Linked DNA regions of Homo sapiens: all the other regions are linked to region 3. The links are contacts of gene promoters, found by promoter capture Hi-C in blood cells and fetal thymus (Javierre and others, 2016). All regions are on one chromosome and are shown on one strand. Each heading gives the region's core, a stretch centred on a gene start or on the middle of the fragment in contact. The rest is flanking DNA. Distances are from core to core; before and after follow the strand shown.

Region 1 (2,951 bases), core at 78-2,577, 290 kb after region 3:
TTAAAGGATGCATACATTCTGATTTTAAAACTAACAAAGCTACAGTAATCAAGACACTGTGGTACTGGCATGAAGATAAACATATAGATCAAGGAATAGAATTTAGAGTCCAGACTTAAATAACTAAATTTATGGTCAATCTTTTTTGTTAAATTTTATGTATTATTTTTTTTTTTTTTCTGAGACAGGGTCCCACTCTGTCACCCAGGCTGGAGTGCAGTGGCACGATCTCAGCTCACTGCAAACTCCACCTCCTGGGTTCAAGTGATTCTCCTGCCTCAGCCTCCTAATTTTATGTATTCTTTTTATAGAGGTGGGGTCTCATTATGTTGCCCAGGCTGGACTCGAACTCCTGGGCTCAAAGATCCTCCTATCTCAGCCTCCCAAACAGCTGAGACTACAGGAGTGTGCCCACTGCACCAGGCTAAGTCAACCAATTTTTTGACACCAAGACAATTCAGTAGAGAAAGAAGTCTTTTCAACAAACCAGTGCTAGAACCAAGGAATATCTACATGCAAAAGAATGAAACTGGATACCTTCATCATCCCATATACAAATATTAACTCTAAATGGATTAAAGACCTGGCTCAGTGGCTCATGCCTGTTATCCCAGCAAACGCAGGTGGATCATTTGAGCCCAGGAGCTTGAGACCAGCCTGGGCAACATGGCAAAACGTCATTTCTACCAAAAAAAAAATACAAAAATTAGCTGGGCGTGGTGGCATGTGCCATAGTCCCAGCTACTCGGGAGGCTGTAGCTGGAGGATTGCTTGAGCCTGGGAGATCAAGGCTGCAGTGAGCCTTGATCGTGCCACTGCACTCCAGCCTGGGTGACAGAGCAAGACCTTGTCTCCAAGAAAAAAAAAATTAGTTAAATGAATTAAAGACCTATAAGTAACAGGTGAAGCTTCAAAAGTGTCACAAGAAAAGTCTAGTGTGGTGGCGCATACCTATAGTCCCAGCTACTCAGGAGGCTGAGACAGGAGGATCACTCGGGCCCGAGACGCCAAGGTTGCAGTGAGCTGTGATAGCACCACTGCACTCCAGCCCAGGAAAAAAAGCAAGACCCTGTCTCAAAAAAAAAAAAAAAAAAAAAGCTATCCAACAGCAACAGCATCAAAAACAATACTTAAACTTAACTAAGGAGGCAAAGACTTGTATGCACTGAAAACTACAAAACACTGATGAAAGAAATTGAAGACACAAATAAATGGAAACACATCCCATGTTCATGGATTAGAAGACTTAATGTTAAAATGTCCATACTACTCACAGCGATGTACAGATTCAATACGATCTCAATGAAAACCCCAATGGCATTTTTTACAGGAATACAAAAACAATCCTAAAACCCAAACAGAACCACAAAAGCCCCCGAATGTAGCCAAAACAATCTTGAAAAAGAACAACAAAGCTAAAGGCCTCACACTTCCTGATTTCAAAACACATTAAAACAGTATGGTACTGGCATAAAAACAAAACATACAGACCAATGGAACAGAACAGAAAGCCCAGAAATAAACCCAGGCATACAGAGGCAACTGATCTTCAAGAAAGGTGCCAAGAATCCACAACAGGAAAAGAACAGTCTCTTCAATAAATGGTACTGGGAAATCTGGGCAGCTATATGAAAAAGAATTGAAGTTTGACCCTCATTTTACACCATACATAAAAGTCAACTCAAAATAGATTAGAAACTTTAATAAGGCCTGAAACTGTAAAACTCCTAGAAGAAAACATGGGAGAAAAGCTTCATGGCACAGCCATGATTTCTAGGATTTGACACCAAAAGCACGGGCAACAAGCGTAAAAACAGACAAGTGAGATTACATCAAACTAAAAAGCTTCGCAGAGCAAACAGATCAATCAACAGAGCAACTAGGCAACTTATGAAATGGGAAAAAATATTTGCAACTACACATCTGCTAAGGGGCTAAAATCCACAATATACAAGGAACTCCTACAACTCAATAGCAAAAAATAACAAATAGCCTGCTTTTCAAATGGGAAAAGGACCTGAAAAAATATTTATTCAAAGACAACATACACAAGGCCAACAGGTATATAAGCAGATGCTCACCATCAGTAATCATCAGGAATATGCAAATCAAAACCACAATGAGATACCATCTCACACCAGTAAGAATGGCTATTATTAAAAATCATAAACTAACAGATGTTGGTGAGGCTGTGAAGAGAAGGGAACACTTAAATATTGCTGGTGGAAATGTAAATTAGTTCAGCCACTGTGGAAAACAACTTCAAGATTTCTCAAAAAACTTAAAACAGGCCAGATGTGGTGGTTTACACCTGTAATCCCAGCACTTCAGGAGGCTGAGGCAGGAGGATCACTTGAGTCCAGGAGTTTGAGGTTGCAGTGAGCTATGATCTCACCACTGCACTACAGCTCAGATGACAGAGCCAGACCCTGTCTCAAAAAACAAACAGACTTAAAACAGAGCTACTATTTGACCCCACAATCCCATTACTGGGTGTATATCCAAAAGAAAGAAATCATTATACCAAAAAGATACATGAACTTGTATGAACAACCATTATCCAAAAATAACAATAACAAGTATTGGCAAGGATGGAGAAATTGTAAACCCTGTGTACTGTTCATAGGAATGCAAAATGGTGCATAATATTTTTTTTAAAGTTCAGAGGTTCCTCACAAAACTAAAAATAGAACTACTGTATGTTCCAGAAATCCCACTTGTGCATATTTATCCAAAAGAATTGATAATGGGTTTTGGTTTTGTTTTGTTTTTTGAGACAGAGTCTCACTCTGTCACCCAGACTACAGTGCAGTGGCGCAATCTCGGCTTACTGCAATCTCCCGTCTCCTGGGTTCAAGTGATTCTCCCAACTCAGCCTCCCAAGTAGCTGAGACTACAGGCATGTGTCACCAGGCCCATCTAATTTTTTTTTGTATTTTTATTAGAGACAG
Region 2 (2,847 bases), core at 234-2,733, 260 kb after region 3:
AGAGAGGAGGAAAGAAAGAATGCTTCCTTTAAATCTTATTACTCACATGGAAGACTGATTTGGAAGGGAAAAAAAAACTAAACAATTAATTTCAGCTTCAAGGAACCTCTATCCAACTGGAAAGAAAAGAAAATACGTGGAGTAATAAGCCACTCTGAGCTCCCTGTGAAGACCCTTTATCTTGTAGAGACCTTAGGCAGCTGACACCACAGAGTACAAAATGGCAGCGCTGTTAAGAACCAAGACAGACTGGAAAATGATGTCCAAGGGCTAATTCAGCTAAGAGTGAGAGGCAATCCTTCCTCTGCACTGCAAGTTACCCAGAGCAGAGAATGATGAAAACTACAACGGAGCAGGAAAGAGAAAGGAAGGAGACCAACTCAGGCCAATTTCTCCTAAATCTCCCTTTCGCAGATTACTTCAAATTCTGCATTCTTCCCCCGCTTCCATGATTTATTCTTCCCTCATCACCATCCCTCTGCGAGAGAAACTGTCTACAGGGGTATCTAGGGGGCCACAACACAACTTCCAGTTCCATTAAATTTCCCCTCCCTGCTCCCACTCCCAACCCCCCCACACACCTAACATCCTTCCTATTGACACGTGTTTAGTTCAGCTGTGTAAAAGCCTAACTGCAGTGGCTTAGGTAACCCTCTAGTCATTTAAGCCTAGTGGCAGAGGGCTACTTAAAAAGAACGTAAATTATCTGCCATTACCTTTCTCCTGTCTACCAGAAGAAATAGCTGACTCTTCTTGTGGTCACCTTCTAATTTAATGTTTCTAATCAATTATGTGTAAGTAATTAAAAACTAAGCTTTATAGATTTATATTAAGTTGAAACAGAGTAAACAGTTTTCGGTCGGGGCTTTTAATAAGGAATTAAATACATAGGCTTTTAATACAAATGTTTTTGACAATTATGTCCAAAACTCGGGGAACTGTCTGGGCTCATCTTCAGAGGACAAAGTTAACAGAAGCATTACAAATGGACAAGTTGGGCACTACTACTCATTTTTAATCAAATATACAAGGCTCTTAAAAATGCTTGCTTGTTCTACAAGGGTCAATTAAAAACTGGGAAAAAAATGCTTGCTGAGGTTTTTTGTAATGGGAGTTTTATACAATTAATGAGGTCTTTCCAAATTAATATGTTTATGTCTGTATTCTAAAATTCAGAAATTATGAAAACCTGGAGAGGAAAGACAACTAATGTGTGCTGAGATGTAAGACACTGTGCTGGGCACCTTTAAATATATTACCTTACTTAATATTTACAATAACCCTCAAGACAGTAACAGCATATCCCCATTTAACAGACAAATTGGGGCTTACCCAAGGATACATAGCTCAGAAGTAAACTGGGATTTCAAACCAGACTTACCTGACTCAATGCACTTTTTACCTTATCACACTATTTCCTGACTTTAAAAGGCCCTGGACACATTAGGAAGTAGTTGAACTCTCATTGTCCTCTCACCACCTGCTCTTAAGGCCTTCTGTCATCATTGCTTGGCTTGGCAAAGCAATCAAACTGTCCTTAGCTGACTACTCCACCTCATGGCTACTATGGGAGAACTTTCCGACACAGAATCCCCTTTTCTCCTGTGGGAGGATTCAACACTTTCCACGTTTTCTATTTTCCAATTTTCTATCTGTTACTCATATCTCAGTGAATTTCTCCTCAGCCATTCTTTCTTTTTCATGTGTTTAAATGTATCTTCTTAAGCTACCTTCCTCCCTCTGTTTTCTCAAAGCCTTACCAGGAAAATCTCTCTACCTTCCCATTCCAATTGAAAATTTAAAAATAATCCTAAATATGGCTAATAAATGTAAAACCAGTCAGTCCTAATGATACACCTGTATCAAAAAAAGAGGGCTGTACATTTTAAAATGAAAACAGATTTGAAGGCTTGTGCTATATGCTCTAAAATTTTTTAAAGCACCAAGTTCCCTTTCTGAATGTATATGAACATCCATGTGTCACTTATTACCTTTAATTAATCTGCATTTGAGCATGAAAGAAATAAATATTTCTCACTTAGAGATCCTACGTTTCTGTTTCATTTATTGAGTTTGGTAGTAATATTATTTTCCATAAACTTTTTTGAATAATATGGAACTTCAACTATGAGTCAAAGCAGGTTATAATAGGCAAGCTTCTGAACCTAATCATCATCGTCTTTTGTATAAAAAGAGTAATTCCCAACTTAAAATATTCTCACAAATTCAGTAATACCTCTTCCCCTGACTTTGTAACAGAACCCATTCAATCTAAAATGAAACTTCACTTGTAAGCCAAGAGAAGCACTCAAAGGAACTTGTTCTGAAAACAGGTAAAAGAAAAAAGCTAGATTTCACAAATTACTTCTGATCCAAAGCACTCTGTTATTTGGAGGATGCCAGTTACATTAACTTGGATATTAACATTTCTAACCTATGTTTCTAACCGTGAGAAATTATACCTTAAAAATATCAGCATTAGAAATACAAATATCAACCGGCCTCCAGATCATTTGGTGAGATGAAACCCATGATTAATACCAGAACCTTTAACAAATTTGCTATTTGTTATTCTGAAGAAGTTTTGTATTTGCTTTCATCCTTGAAAAGTATAGTTTTGATCTAAGCAGAAACTACTTCATCTCTTATTAATAAAACAAAATCTATTTCTTGTCTAAGTACATTCAAAGACCTCTTCAGATATACCTCTGTATAACTACCATTTTGTATCTATAAAACATATCTTCTAAACCATGTTAATTTTTAAAGTACTACTATTTCAAAATATCCTAATAGGAACATCATTTATAATAATGGTAACTGGACAAAATGGTCTCTGATCAGTGC
Region 3 (2,967 bases), core at 232-2,731:
ACTTAAATGAATTGTCAATTATGCAGACAAAAAACTCAACTTTCAGGGAAACTCCAAATCAATGTCCAGTGTTGCAAGCAACCCAGCTTATTTGAATAGCCCGGACAGAGCATATGCCCTGTGTCACTCACAGGAAGGCAAAGGCTAACACCACCACGTTGCTGACTTTGTTCAAAGCACTTTCCATTTATTTTTACTTTCATTTTGTCACATCATCACTAGGAGGCTAGAAGGAACAGGGATCATCACTTTCATTTCACAGATGGAGAAAGTGAGCGCAAAGAGACAGCAGTCCCAAGGTCATAATGGTATTATGGTTAGAATTCCACTCAGTATGTGGCATATTTTTCCAGATCATAAGAAAGAACTGGACACAAAGGTAGCAGGGAGAAGAGGTCAGTTCCTTCTCTCTGCGTGGGACAGGCGGTGGCTACCACGGAGCAACAGTTCATTGGGAAAGGAAAGGGGAGGGAGGAGGCTCAGGGATGGTCCTGTATCAGCCTGTGCCTTGCAGGGGTTCAACCATGCAACCCCAACCGCGTTCCTTTGCTTTTAAGTCGAACCAGTAGAGCGTTTTGTTTCAAACTACGTACATCCTTTGTCCTTTACAATATCCCGTCCTAGAACCCCTTAAAAATCAGTTATTTAGATGAGAAAGTCGAGCCCTGTACCTGGAGAGGCCAGTTCTGTATAGCGGAAAAAATGAAACTGGGGACCGGCTGGCCAGATATCGGAGGTGGGAGAGATGCTTTGCAGTCTTTTTCCCTTTCCTTTCCATTTTTTTTAAAGTGGGGTGGAAGAGATACAGGGTACCCCATAGGAAATAAGTTTTCTTCCAAAGGGTTGGAGGAGAACGGGATAGTCACACCCCTCAGTCCAGCCAACTGCGAAAGCGTCCCTCCCTACCCGCCGACCCTCAGGGTCCCGCACACGCCGGGCGAGGAGCCCCCACCCTGGGTCGCGCCGCGCGGAGGGGCCTACGGCTGGGGATGCAGCCCGGGGCGCGCCCACGCCCCCAGCACAGACTGGCCAGGCGCCAGGTTCCCGGCTCTCACTCACCCGCGCTCCCGCCTCTGGGGGCCCGGCCGGAGGGTCCCCGCTGTGTCGCGGCGCCTGGCTCAGGGGCCCTGTAGCTGGGGCCGGGGGTCGCGGGCCCGCGGCGCTCCCGGGGCGGCGTGGGCGGCGGCTCGCGCTCCGGGCGGCGCTCCAGCTGCAGCTCCAGCCCCGCTCCCGCGAGGGGCGCCAGGCTCAGCGCGCGGCGAGCCGGGGAAGGCGGCGGGTCCCGCGTCCCGGGGGCCGCCGGCGGCAGCAGCAGCAGCGGCAGCAACAGCAGCAGGAGCGGCGGCGGCCACCGCGAGGCGCGCGGCGAGGCCATGGTGACGGCGCCCGCCCGCGCTCACATGCCCGGCGCGCGGGGCGAGGGCAGCGGGCAGCGGGCAGCGGGCGGCGGGGGCCGCGCGGGGCCGGGGAAGTGAGCGGAGTGAGGCTGCGAGCGCGCTCCCCGCCTCAAAAGTTATCGGGAGCCGCGGGAGGGCTGCCGGGGGCCGGGCTGGCTGGGCGGAGGCGGCCCGCGGCGCCGCTACATGCTAATTAGCCCGGGCGGGTCGCTGGCTGGCGGGCGGCTCCTCCTCAGTTGACATCACCGGCCCCGCGCGGCGGGCCCGGAGGCGGGGAGAGGGCAGGAAGGGGGCTGGGGCCGGGCGCCTGGAGAGCGGCCCGGCCCGGGACAGCGGGATGAGGTCAGCGGAGCCACGGTGCTGCAACTTTTGTCACACACATGCTCCAGAGTCTTCTGAATCGGGCACCACCTACCCAACTCCTTAAACGCACAAGAAGTAGGTGAAAAGCAGGTCCTGGGTAATGTGATTAGCACCAGACTAGATTATCCCAAGTGCTTTGATAGGAGAGAGAAAGGGAACGGTCCCCTGGTACCCAGCCCGCGCTGTCACCGCCGTTATTGATTTGAAGTGTCCCCACTCCCACCCCCACCTCCCCTTCTTCAGGCCCCAGGGCTGGTGATGAGCTCGTGTTTGCCAAACCTAACACCTCACCCTCCGGCCAACGCGAGAATCCGAGTATCCCCCACGCCCTCTCAAGCTTGGATGCCGTTCCCATCCGACCACTGCCTTTGGCTCACACCAGAGTTCTGCAGAGATGTCACCGCGAGGACACCCAAACAGGCTGCAGGGAAAAGAAAACTGTGAATTCAGGCAGGCTAGGGCAAACTCATCATCAGGAAAAGAACTGCAGATCGCAAATTAAACCAAATGATGCCCAGAGAACACAGAATTTTAAATGGAAACCTATGGGGAAAGATTCAAAGATTTCATGTAAACAAATTTTCTTGGTCAATAAAGTTCCATTTGTTTCCATAACCTCTCCCTCCCCAGTAAATGAATAATAAACTGTCTAAAGTTTAGGACTGTAAGCCACCTCATTAAGTGAAGAAAGAGGGGCTCAAATGGGAAAATAACTTGCTCAAGATTCTGAAGGTAGACCCGAAGACGAAATGATTGATCTGTGAATGACCATGTGATATTATTAATTCTGGTCTCCTAATTCAGAGTTTGCAATAATTCGCAAACGGAAACAAATAGTATTGCAACAGAAACAAATGTTGCAGCTCCTTGGGGTTCTTGCGAGTTCTGTTGGGGGCCCCTGTCTGACAACCAAATGCTCGTGAAAATATGAGTATGCACCTCACTGTCAGGCCTGGCTCTCCATCCTATTTCTCTGCTCTTCTCTTTTTCTCTGTCTCCAGATCTCCATGACCCACCTCCAGGAGAATGAGATCGTAGTGTCCAGGGCAGCTGCAGATGGGCCTAGGCCCACTTTCTGGTGACTCAGTACAAGTGAGTCATTTGGCAGAAAAACATAAAGGAGGCTGTGTATAAACAAACTCACCTTAAATGAGAGAATGAGGAGTAAAGATTTGGTTTTATTTTGTTTTGTTTTTAAACAAACCAG

Evidence for each region. The method cuts DNA at HindIII sites, captures the fragments that hold promoters and counts their contacts. A CHiCAGO score of 5 or more calls a contact.
Region 1: a contact is called between a fragment that was not itself captured here and the fragment with the promoter of HEG1 in region 3, in 3 of 17 cell types (naive CD8 T cells, total B cells and activated CD4 T cells). The highest score is 6.8, in naive CD8 T cells.
Region 2: a fragment that was not itself captured here is called in contact with the fragment with the promoter of HEG1 in region 3 in 2 of 17 cell types (naive CD4 T cells and activated CD4 T cells); the score reaches 6.3 in naive CD4 T cells.

The regions. Positions count from the first base shown.
Region 1 is chr3:125,347,405-125,350,355 of GRCh38, forward strand. All of the region lies in intron 1 of ZNF148 (zinc finger protein 148), which reads right to left. Among named protein-coding and RNA genes, the nearest start is that of ZNF148, 26 kb to the right of the region's middle. The HindIII fragment of the contact is 843 bases long and covers 907-1,749 here.
Region 2 is chr3:125,318,438-125,321,284 of GRCh38, forward strand. The region is part of intron 3 of ZNF148 (zinc finger protein 148); the gene reads right to left. Among named protein-coding and RNA genes, the nearest start is that of ZNF148, 55 kb to the right of the region's middle. The HindIII fragment of the contact is 1,342 bases long and covers 813-2,154 here.
Region 3 is chr3:125,054,516-125,057,482 of GRCh38, forward strand. HEG1 (heart development protein with EGF like domains 1) reads right to left here and starts at 1,482. Exons shown (of 17, transcript NM_020733.2): 1 at 1,060-1,482. The coding sequence starts at 1,375. RefSeq lists silencers at 976-1,135, 1,196-1,285, 1,366-1,745 and an enhancer at 1,996-2,045. The HindIII fragment of the contact is 2,339 bases long and covers 1-2,095 here.